2 separate regions of the Homo sapiens genome follow, and region 1 is linked to region 2. Evidence: promoter capture Hi-C in human tissues and cell types (Jung and others, 2019). All regions are on one chromosome and are shown on one strand. Each heading gives the region's core, a stretch centred on a gene start or on the middle of the fragment in contact. The rest is flanking DNA. Distances are from core to core; before and after follow the strand shown.

Region 1 (5,379 bases), core at 525-3,024, 1.3 Mb before region 2:
CTGGGACTACAGGTGCGTGCCACCATGCCCGATTAAATTTTTTTATTTTTTGTAGAGATGGGGTCTCATTATGTTGTCCGTGCTGGTCTCGAACTCCTAGCCTCAAGCAATCCTCCTGCCTTGGCCTCCCAAAGTGCTACGATTTCAGGCACAAGCCACTGTGCCCAGCCTAAACTCTGGCTTTGAATCACATTCTACCCAAGGAGGAACTCAGCCCTTCCTCACAGGCTTCTCCTGTGCCTGAAGACCACCACTGACTCCTTATCTGACCCCTTGGTTTCCTTGAGGGTTAAAGAAGAGGGCTGGATCAGACGCCTGCTGCAGTCCTGGAACTCCACAGTTTACTTTGCTGCCAGAATCACACCCCCAAAGGTAGGTGCCTGAGATACCAGTCCCCGAATTCTAAAGCCCAGAGTGAACACAGCTGACCTTAGGAGCAAACAGCCAGAGGGGAAAGTTCACACAGCCTGGGAAAGGCAAAAACAGGATGAGAACTTGGGTCTCCTAATTTCCCATCTTTTGACCGGCTCTAAGCTTCCCCTGAGGGAGAGAAGGGATTACCTGGGACCTCTGTTTTACAAATGAGTGCAACAGCACCAAGGGTTCTATGCCTATTTCCTGGGCAGAAGGCAGCTTTGGGAGCTTGTTGATGATTACCACTCACCTGAGGCCTGACACGAATAAGTCAGGTGTAACCACTGGTTAGAGTGAAATGAGGGAGGGCTGGGAGTGGTGGCTCACGCCTGTAATCCCAACACTTTGGGAGGCTGAGGCGGGAGGATCACTTGAGGTCAGGAGTTCGAGACCAGCCTGGCCAACATGGTGAAACCCAGTCTCCACTAAAAATACAAAAATTAGCCGGGTGTGCTGGCACGTGCCTGTAGTCCCAGCTACTTGGGAGGCTGAGGCATGAAAATCGCTTGAACCCGGGAGGCAGAGGTTGCAGTGAACCGAGATCTCGCCACTGCACTCCAGCCTGGGCGACAGAGCAAGACGAGACTCCATCTCAGAAAAAAAAAAGGAAAGAAAGAAATGAGGGAGACCTGGCAGGGCCAACTCATCATGTGATTTCTGTGGCAGCCCTGGGACCCCTTGCTTGCTATGAGTTTACCCAGCAAGCTGTCCTCTCTGGCCAGTCAGGCAATGTTCCAGCTCCAATATTCCAGCGCTGCCTGCAGCTAGCTGGGGGCTTTTGGGCAAGCCATTTCACATCTGTGGATTTCAGCCTCTTCGTTTGTAAAGTGGAATTAGTCATTCCTGCGTCTAGAAGTTAGCAGGAGTTCACGTGCAGCAACAATTGGTAGAGACCTTCACAAAGGAGCCGCTCAAGAAATGCGGGTTTTCTTGCTGGGCAAATCGCCTCCCTCCGTCAAAAGGGTTTAACCAGGCAAGAGTCAATATTAGGAAGCCATAAAGTCGCCCTGAGAGATGCGAAGGGGAACAGTAGCTAAGAGTGTAGGAGCCGCCCACCCCCACCTCCAGGACCTCCATTCCAGCGCAAGCTCGGGAAAGGTCTTGGAACGACTCCCGGAACGGAGCGTTACCTCCGGAGACGCCGTCCACGCGGATGTGCGGCCCCTGACGGGACGTGATGACCCGCTCACTCTTCCAAGTGCCAGCTCCGCGGATGCCTTCCAGCTCCCCCTCCAGAATGCCACGCAGCTGGGCCAGCGCTGACTGTGCGCGGCGGCCGCGGGGCACCCAGAAGAGTGCGGCGCGCCAGGCGTTCCCAGGCCACATCGCTCCTACCTCGCCCGAGCGCGCCTGCCTGCCTGGGAGCCGTGCGCATCGCGGACGCAGCCTGGTCGCGTGGCCGGGGGCCGGGCTCCAGCAGCCAATCGGAGCTAGGGGGGCTCGCTTAAAAAGGCGGGGAGGCGGGCCTAGGACGGGTGGGCGGGGCCTGGCGGGATCCGCCAGGGACCGAGAGGCTTGACTTGTAAGTTGAGACTGCCGAAGTCCGGATGGCAGAGGGGAGGGAAGGGGGCGGAGGAAGTCGCGTCAGGGCCAAGCCCACCAGACTCCCCACCGCATTCCCACGTACTCACCTCTCGGCCGGAAATGGGGTACCCTCTGGACCCCAAAGGCAGAAGCCTAGAAGCCGGCTAAGGCACGTTCCGCAGCCTCCGGGACTAAGGATTCCTGGCTTCTGTCCAGCTCCTGAACCCTCCCCCGCCATTCTCAGGTGCAAACGCCCCAGATGTCCCCACTGCCTGCCCGCCTAACCGCTCCGCATTCATTCTCCAGTCTTCAAAGTGAGGAAAAATACACCGCTCAGTTTCTCCCTTTTCCAATTTATTTTAAAGTTTTAAAATTACAAAGACAGCAAAATTTTCCCGGCACAAGTAACACTTGTTTAAAAAAGGGGGTGGGGGGGGGACGCGCAAGTGCGCGATTTTTCTATTTTATTAAAAATAAGAGAAAGACAACTGTACAGGTTTTTTCTCCCAGCTCCCGGGTGTGAAACTAAGTACTAGCCCTAGATATGTATATATACACAAACACACACATGCACACAGATCTAGCTCTGTAAAACTACTTAGCAAATCCCAAATCGACTGCAGTAAGTCTTACTATCCACTGCCCGCCCACTCCCCCTCCCCCTCCCGCAGCTACAACTACTTATAATAAAGGACTCAAAAAGAGATCGGGAGGTTTTAAGTGGCCGCAGCCCCACCAAACCAAGCAAAGACACCTCTTGTACAGGAGGAACAAAAATCCAGAGGAAAAGAAAAGTCTTCCTAGGACACAATCCATCGATTGCGTGGAAAAACCTAAGTTTCAACAGGGCACACTGAGGCACTTGGCTGACTCCCCACCCTTCCCCTGAAGTTTTCACTCCGGTTTAACAAGAGAATTTGCTGAAGCCACAAAGATCCCCCAATGGCTACATCCTAGCTGACTGGGAGAAACTATGGCTTCTCCCATCCAGCTGTCACTTGGACCCCACTCCCCTTCCCTAAGAAAATAGGGAGGCCGAAAGCGCAAACTAACAAAAATGAGAAGGAAACTGGGTTTGGGCCCCCACTGCTCACCACTGGGAGGTGGAAGTCAGCCCGGTGGCGGTTTTTTTCCCCCTCCTTCCTTTGCCGGCTGGCTGCTCCCTACCACCTCTCTCCTGCTGGCCAAAGGTTCTGAAACTCTCACAACGGGTGCCCAACTCAAAGAAAACTCACTCACCCTAAAGATATTCCTGCTAACCTCACAATTCCTGGGTTCCCTCTCATCTAGCCAGAACAAACTGCCTTGTGTCTTCTCCCCACCCACATCTACCTTCATGGCAAACAAGCCAACAAAACACACAAGCCCCCCCCGCAAATCCCTAACCCCGTAAGTAGGTTAATAGCAAAACAAAATATAAGTACATTCTCATCATTAGATTGGTTGTTGCTGTCCTTGCACAACTGGTTAAGGAAAAATGAATTATTCTGTAATTTCTGAAGAATCCAAATCCTGTCTCTTATAAAGTCAGAACAGAAGGGGGCAAAAGGTGGTGGTGAGCATCAAGAGAGAAAAAAGGAGAAAATTATTTACAGAAAATAGGAGACAGGAGGGAGTGTCCGCAAGAAAAGACTTCATTGTCACTTCTTCTTGCCGGCCCTCTTGGCACTGGACTTTGCTTTGGGTTTCACTGGTTTGGCCTTTTTGGGCTTGGATGCCTTGACCGGCTTGGCTTTGACAGTCTTGGGTTTTTTGGCTTTCTTGGGCGTGGCAGCCAGCTTCTTCTTGGCCTTCTTGACCGGGGTGGCTTTGGGTTTCTTGGTTGGGGCTTTGGAGGCAGCCTTCTTGGGCTTGGATGCCTTCTTTGGCGTGGCTACCTTCTTGATTTCCTTCTTGGTCTTCTTGAAGGCCACTGACTTCTTGGGTTCGTCGCTCTTGGCTAGCCGGAAGGACCCCGAGGCCCCCACCCCTTTGGTCTGCTTGAGGACACCGGTGGTGACCAGGCGCTTGATGGACAACTTGATCTGCGAGTCAGCGTTCTCACCCACCTTGTAGTGGCTCTTGATATACTTCTGAATGGACTGGCGCGAGGAGCCAGCGCGGTTCTTCTCGGCCTGGATGGCAGCCACGATCATGTCTGAATACTTGGGGTGGTCTGTGGACTTCTTGGAGGCCTTGGCCCGCTTGGGCTTGGCCGCAGGGGCGGACGTGGAATTCTCGGTCATGGTGGCCTGTCTGGTCCGGCTGTTGAAGGCGCCTTCCAAAGGGCCAGCCCTCGTCGGAGGCTGAGCAAAGCCTGCCTCGGGATCTGCTCCTGAGCCCCTGACTACCGGGCCAGTCTGGAGTGCGGCTCCCGGGGATGCGAGCGAGGAGTCGCTGCTTTTCCTCCCCGGCTCGGGTGTCGGGAGAGCTCGCCGAGCCGGCTTTGCGAGGCCCAGCCCCGCCGGTCTGTCGCTTGGTCTCGGCACCGGGCTCGGGCTCTGCCTCTGCCTCTGCCTCTGCCTCCGCCTCCTCTGCCTCCCTTTTCCCAGCTCCGCGTCTGGCGCTTGGGCGGCGCATCCGGGTATTTAGCGGCGGCGGGCGGACCGCGGTGAGGACAGGGCTGCTGGCTGCCTGCTCCCGGCCCGGAATGGCGCTGCGCCGCCGCCATCTGTGTTTCTTCCGCCGAGCAAATCCGACCTTTCCCCCCGGCCCGGGCCTTCCTGCTCCCCGCCGCCGCCCTGGGCCGCTGCCTGGCTCCCTGGGCTTCCCCGCCGGGCGGCCCGCTGGCCCGGCCGCCGCCCCCCGCGCCCGCCACGCACCCCAAACGGCGCCGAGGACCGCTGGTGTGCCGGCACATTTCCCCTTTGCGGGGGGCTGGCTCTGCGGGGCTAGGGAGCCTCGGTGCGGGAAACCCCCCGTAGCAAAGCTCTCCCCTGAGGCTACCGGGGGCTCTGCTCCCGGCCCGCTGCGGGGTCCCCTAGCCCGGTGGAGCTGCCGGAAAGCGGCCCCAACTAACACACGCGGCCCCGAGCTGGGCGACTCCCAGCCGGGCCGAGCCGGGACAGGGGGGAGGGGTCGCTCCCCCGGGGTCCGGTCACCTCTCGGGGGTCACCCCGCCACCGGTCCCTCCACACCTCTACCCCCTCTGTCCATGGGGCCCCCAAGGAAACTTTCCCTGAAAGAGTTGGAAGGGTACTTTCAAACTTTGTCCCTTCCCCCTCCTCTGCCGTCTCTCCCCCAGCGCGCCCCCCGACCTCTGCCTTGAGGTTCCCTCCTGAGGCCGAACCCCCAGTGCTGCCCGGACCCTCTGAGAGATGAGGAGGGCCTCCCGGGTGGCCTCTTCTCCTCAAAGACCCCTACATCTCCCATATACCCTAATCGGGAATTCATTTGTGTGCTTCTCTTAGCCTGGAAGTTTTGGGGTGTCAGAGACAGAACTCGCTGCCCCCCATCCGTGAG
Region 2 (5,145 bases), core at 2,614-5,113:
CTCTGACATTTAGCAGATGAAATAAAATATATATCTGTTTAGTCTTTCCCTCATCGTCTGCCTGCATTAACGATTTACAGTCGTTTCTTCAAAGATTCCTGACAGAGTGGGGATGAGATTCAGCAATTTCTATGTGGAATTCAGAATCTGGGTGTCCTCATTTGTTATAAGAAGTCCATTTCCACAAGCATGAGTGCCTGCTGGCTGTGTGAAGGGCCACCTGTTGCTTTTGGAGAGTTCACTGTGAGGAGCTGGAGTGCAGAGCACTAGTACAGCGTGAAGCAGGGTGTGGGTGAGGTGGGGCTGCTGCGCCTGAGGGAGGCTGCCACAGAGAGCTTGATGGATGTCCCACTGGGTGATTGTGTAATGGTTTATGAATTGTTTTTAAGCTTGGCTTGGGCTGGTGACACTCAGGCCTGTCCCTACAAAGCATTGTGTCATAAGAGCTCTGCATGTTGAGGATATGTAAACTTTTTTTTTTTTTTTTTTTTTTTTTGAGACGGAATCTCACTTTGTTGCCCAGGCTGGAGTGCAGTAGCATGATCTCGGCTCACTGCAACCTCCACCTCCCAGGTTCAAGCGATCCTCCTGCCTCAGCCCCCCAGTAGCTGGGATTACAGGCATGCACCACCATGCCTGGCTAATTTTTGTATTTTTAGTAGAGACGGGGTTTCGCCATATGGGTCAGGATGGTCTCGAACTCCTGACCTCAGGTGATCTACCCGCCTTGGCCTCCCAAAGTGCTGAGATTACAGGCGTGAGCCACCGCACCCAGCCGAGGCTATGTAAACTATGTAAGTGGACACTGTTCTGTTCTGGACACTTGATGGAGTAATTACCCTGCCAGGTATTAATGCTGAGCTTTCTGTAGTATCTAAGCCTCATACAGAACTGTGATGCTGGCAGGAGTAGTACCATTGTAGAGGTGAGGAAACAGGCATGGTGGCTCAAACCTCTAATCCCAACACTTTGAGAGGCTGAGGCAGAAGGATCACTTTAGCCTAGAAGTTTGAGACCAGCCTGGGCAACACAGGGAGACCAGGGCCTGTCTCTGCAAAAAAATAAATTATTAGCCAGTCATGATGCTTCCACCTGTGGTCCCAGCTACTCAGGAGGCTGAGGTGGGAGGATTGCTTGAGCCCAGGAGTTCAAGGCTGCAGTGAGCTATGATCACACCACTGCACTCCAGCCTAAGTGACAGAAGGAGACCCTTTATCAAAAAAAAAAAGGCCAGGTGCAGTGGCTCATGCCTGTAATCCCAGCACTTTGGGAGGCCGAGGTGGGTGGATCACTTGAGGTCAGGAGTTCAAAACCAGCCTGAGCAACATAGCAAAACCCCGTCTCTACTAAAAATACAAAACAGCCAGGCATGGTGGCACACGCCTGTAATTCCAGCTACTTGGGAGGCTGAGGCTGGAGATTCACTCGAACCCAGGAGGCGGAGGTTGCAGTGAACTGAGATCACACCACTGCACTCCAATTTGGATTACAGAGACTCTCAAAAAAAGCTCAGCATTTCTAAAGTTACAGGTTTTTTTTTTAAAGTAGCTTGAAAAAACACAAAATTAATTTTAATGAATCGAACCTCAGCAAGCAAAAGGTTTCTTGAACTGTGTTAGAAGCAGTGGAGAGAAAAAGTGTACTTGGGGAGTTTTCAATGTGAATACAGAGTGTTAAAAAACAGATTAAAGTGGTGTGACTAGTGCCGGGGGTTTCCAGGTTGGACCAGTATTCACCAAATTGCCTCTTGCAAACCATGGCCCTGTCCAACAGGATTAACAGAAGCAAGTGGAAGTGACTCAAGCTCATTCCCTGAAAATACTTTGCATCAGTTTCCACTGCCTTTTTTTTTTTTTTTTTTTTTTTTGAGACGGAGTCTTGCTCTGTTGCCCAGGCTGGAGTGCAGTGGCGCAATCTCAGGCACTGTAAGCTCCGCCTCCTGGGTTCACGCCATTCTCCTGCCTCAGCCTCCCGAGTAGCTGTCCACTGCTTTTATCTGTCCTGCATGGGGCTACCAAGTTGACTGCTGCAGTAATCCTACATTCAGAAACTCCCAGTAGCATCCTGTTGCTTACAATCTAGGTTCAGCCTACTCGTAGGGCCCTACCATACTTGACGAATTCTGTTTAATTTCCCACTACTGTATTCACCACATAAGACCAGCAATTATTTTAGGAACTTGTTTGCCAGCACCCATTCTCATAATCTTCACAACCACTAAGAAACAGACATCCCCAAATTGCATGACTATCAAAACATCTCATATGCCCCATAAATATATACACATATGCCCCCAAAAATTTTTTTGAAAAATTGGCCAGGGGCCATGGCACACACTTGTAATCCCTAGCACTTTGGGAGGCTGAAGCAGGATCGCTTGAGCCTGGAAGGTCAGGGCTGCAGTGAGCCATGATTGTGTCACTGCACTCCAGCCTGGGTGACAGTGAGACTCTGTCTCAAAAAGAAGAAATAAGACATCCCTACTTTATTTTTGGCAAAGTATTCTGCCTGACCTCTCTGGTTGCAATGCTTATTCAACAAATGCTTAAACTTCCGTATGTCAGATACTGGACAATTTCTGCTCTGAGGGAGCTTTTCTCTGATGTTGACACAGACTGAAGAAAGTAAATGACATTCGGCCAGGCGCGGTGGCTCACGCCTGTAATCCCAGCACTTTGGGAGGCCGAGGCGGGCGGATCACGAGGTCAGGAGATCGAGACCATCCTGGCTAACACAGTGAAACCCTGTCTCTACTAAAAATACAAAAAATTAGCCGGGTGTGGTGGCGGGCACCTGTAGTCCCAGCTACTAGGGAGGCTGGGGCAGAAAAATGGCGTGAACCTGGGAGGTGGAGCTTGCAGTGAGCCGAGATCACGCCACTGCACTCCAGCCTGGGCGACAGAGTGAGACTCCATCTCAAAAAAAAAAAAAAAAGAAAAAGTAAATGACATTCTTTGGTAGGTACTTGTAGGCCTGAGAGGTCAGGAAAATTTTTCTAAGGAGTCCCCAGCTACGATTTTTAATTCAAAGAATCTCCAGCCATGCAAATCTGCAGGCTCGCAGTTCTTTCCACCTGCCCTTCCCCCAAGAACACTCAGCCCCATTTCACTGGACTTTGAAGGTTCCTACACTGACTTCGTATTTCTCCCCATGTAAATCTCATGCAGGGGCCACTTGCCACCCCTGGGAAGCCAACCTTCATCATCCAGTTCACGTTATCTTCCTCCTGCCATTTATCTTGCCTCCACTGAGTTTTAATTCCAGGCTCCACTTCCTGTGATTGTAAACATATCCCTTCATCCCTATGTCTCCATTTGACCAGTCAGCTACCAAATGTCGGAAACAATGCCTTGCCCACCTCTCCTATTTGGTGGAAGATTAGGACAGTCGTGTATGTTACTTGGTAAGCAGTACACTGAGTCACTGTAGCAAACGCTTGTTAATTGGCTTATCGGTCCTGGCTCCACCACGCTGGTTTCCAGTCCCACAAAACTGGGTAGGCCAACTAGTTTTAGCGTTTGGCTACATTCATGGAATATGAGAGCTAGGATTAGCTCCAAAAATCACGTGCTCCCCTCCCTCCGTGTAGAGAGGCACCTTTTAAAACGAAGGACCCAGTTCCCCATCCCGGATCTCCAGACCTTCCACCCTCGCGGGTGCGCGCTAGCCCCAGGCCCCTCTACCAGCCCCCGGAGCAGCGAACGCAGCACGCGCGCGCCTCTCCCGCGCTGGGCCGGAGCAGGCAGCCTGCCAGCTGGTCCCGGCGTGCCGCGCGCCGCGCACGTGACCCCGCCCCCTGCCATTGGTCCGGGCGCGAGGGGCGGAGCCGCCGCGGAGCAAGCGAGCCAAGCGCGGCCTCATTAGACCACGGGTTGCAGCCGGAGCGGCTGGGAGGTTCGCGCGTTTCTCAGGGTTCGGTCGGAGGCGGGGAGGCCGGAGCTGCGGGCGTAGGGACCTGGCGGCTCCTGAAGCGCACGCGGGCGGGCGGCAGGTGTGCGCGGCATCCCTGTCACGTGGCCGAAGAGCCTGGGGCGCGCGGACCCTGGCAGGGGGCGGGGCGCACGCAGGCCACACCCACTTCAGGCTCCCACCCGGTCGCTGGAGAGGGGCCAAGGCCTCTGGAAGGTCCAACCTGGAGGGTGGTTCAAAGGGGTGTTGGGCACCCTCAAATTAGGGGAAAATTGGGGAGTACGCTCTCCTTCCCCAGGGTGGAGGTTACTACAATCATAAGCGGGGAGCCGGTGCCCCTGAGGAAGGAGACCCTGAGGGAGATAAGATGGAGGGGCTCGGGATTCCGGGGAGCCCCAAGTCCCAGCTTGAAACGGTGGAGTCCGGGCAAATGAGCTCTGAGGACGGCTTCTGGGCCTGGCCGTGACCCAGATTGCAGTGAGAGTTCCCGCAGGCCCCGCCTCTTTCTGGGCCTCGTGTCTCCCAGCCGCCGGGCCGGGTGCGAGGCCTTACCCCTCTGATCTGCTGCAGGATGGGCCTCTCCGCTGCGGCCCCGTTGTGGGGTCCCCCGGGGCTGCTCCTGGCCATCGCCCTGCACCCAGCGCTGTCGGTGCCCCCGCGCCGGGACTACTGCGTGCTGGGCGCTGGGCCCGCGGGCCTGCAGATGGCCTACTTCCTGCAGCGCGCTGGACGCGACTACGCAGTGTTCGAGCGGGCCCCGCGGCCCGGCAGCTTCTTCACACGCTACCCGCGGCACCGCAAGCTCATCAGCATCAACAAGCGGTACACGGGCAAGGCTAACGCCGAGTTCAACCTCCGCCACGACTGGAACTCTCTGCTCAGCCACGACCCCCGGCTGCTCTTCAGACACTACTCGCGTGCCTACTTCCCCGACGCCCGCGACATGGTGCGCTACCTGGGTGACTTCGCGGACACGCTGGGGCTCCGTGTCCAGTACAACACCACCATCGCCCACGTCACTCTGGACAAGGACCGACAGGCCTGGAATGGCCACTACTTCATCCTAACTGACCAGAAGGGCCAGGTGCATCAGTGCAGGTAAGGCCGGTGCCAGAGCTCACCTGCGGAAGCTGGGACCTTCCCCACACGAACCACACACCTTGATTGGCCAGTAGGTATGGGAGGAATGGACGAAAAAGGGTATTTCGCTTTTTTTTTTTTTTAAGACGGAGTCTC

The links. The method cuts DNA at HindIII sites, captures the fragments that hold promoters and counts their contacts. A contact is called where the count stands out against the background at its distance.
Region 1: the fragment with the promoter of GCAT here is called in contact with the fragment with the promoter of FOXRED2 in region 2 in 1 of the 25 tissues and cell types used here (aorta).

What each region holds. Positions count from the first base shown.
Region 1 is chr22:37,804,329-37,809,707 of GRCh38, reverse strand. It overlaps GCAT (glycine C-acetyltransferase), which reads right to left and starts at 1,774. Exons shown (of 9, transcript NM_014291.4): 1 at 1,545-1,774. The coding sequence starts at 1,740. H1-0 (H1.0 linker histone) reads right to left here and starts at 4,479. Exons shown (of 1, transcript NM_005318.4): 1 at 2,276-4,479. The coding sequence starts at 4,163. The coding sequence ends at 3,579. RefSeq lists silencers at 1,670-1,959, 4,314-4,393 and an enhancer at 3,388-4,083. The HindIII fragment of the contact is 28,064 bases long and covers 1-5,379 here.
Region 2 is chr22:36,505,758-36,510,902 of GRCh38, reverse strand. It overlaps FOXRED2 (FAD dependent oxidoreductase domain containing 2), which reads left to right and starts at 3,863. Exons shown (of 9, transcript NM_001102371.2): 1 at 3,863-3,894; 2 at 4,480-5,007. The coding sequence starts at 4,481. It overlaps EIF3D (eukaryotic translation initiation factor 3 subunit D), which reads left to right. Exons shown (of 15, transcript NM_003753.4): 15 at 1-48. RefSeq lists a silencer at 3,617-4,116. The HindIII fragment of the contact is 18,149 bases long and covers 1-5,145 here.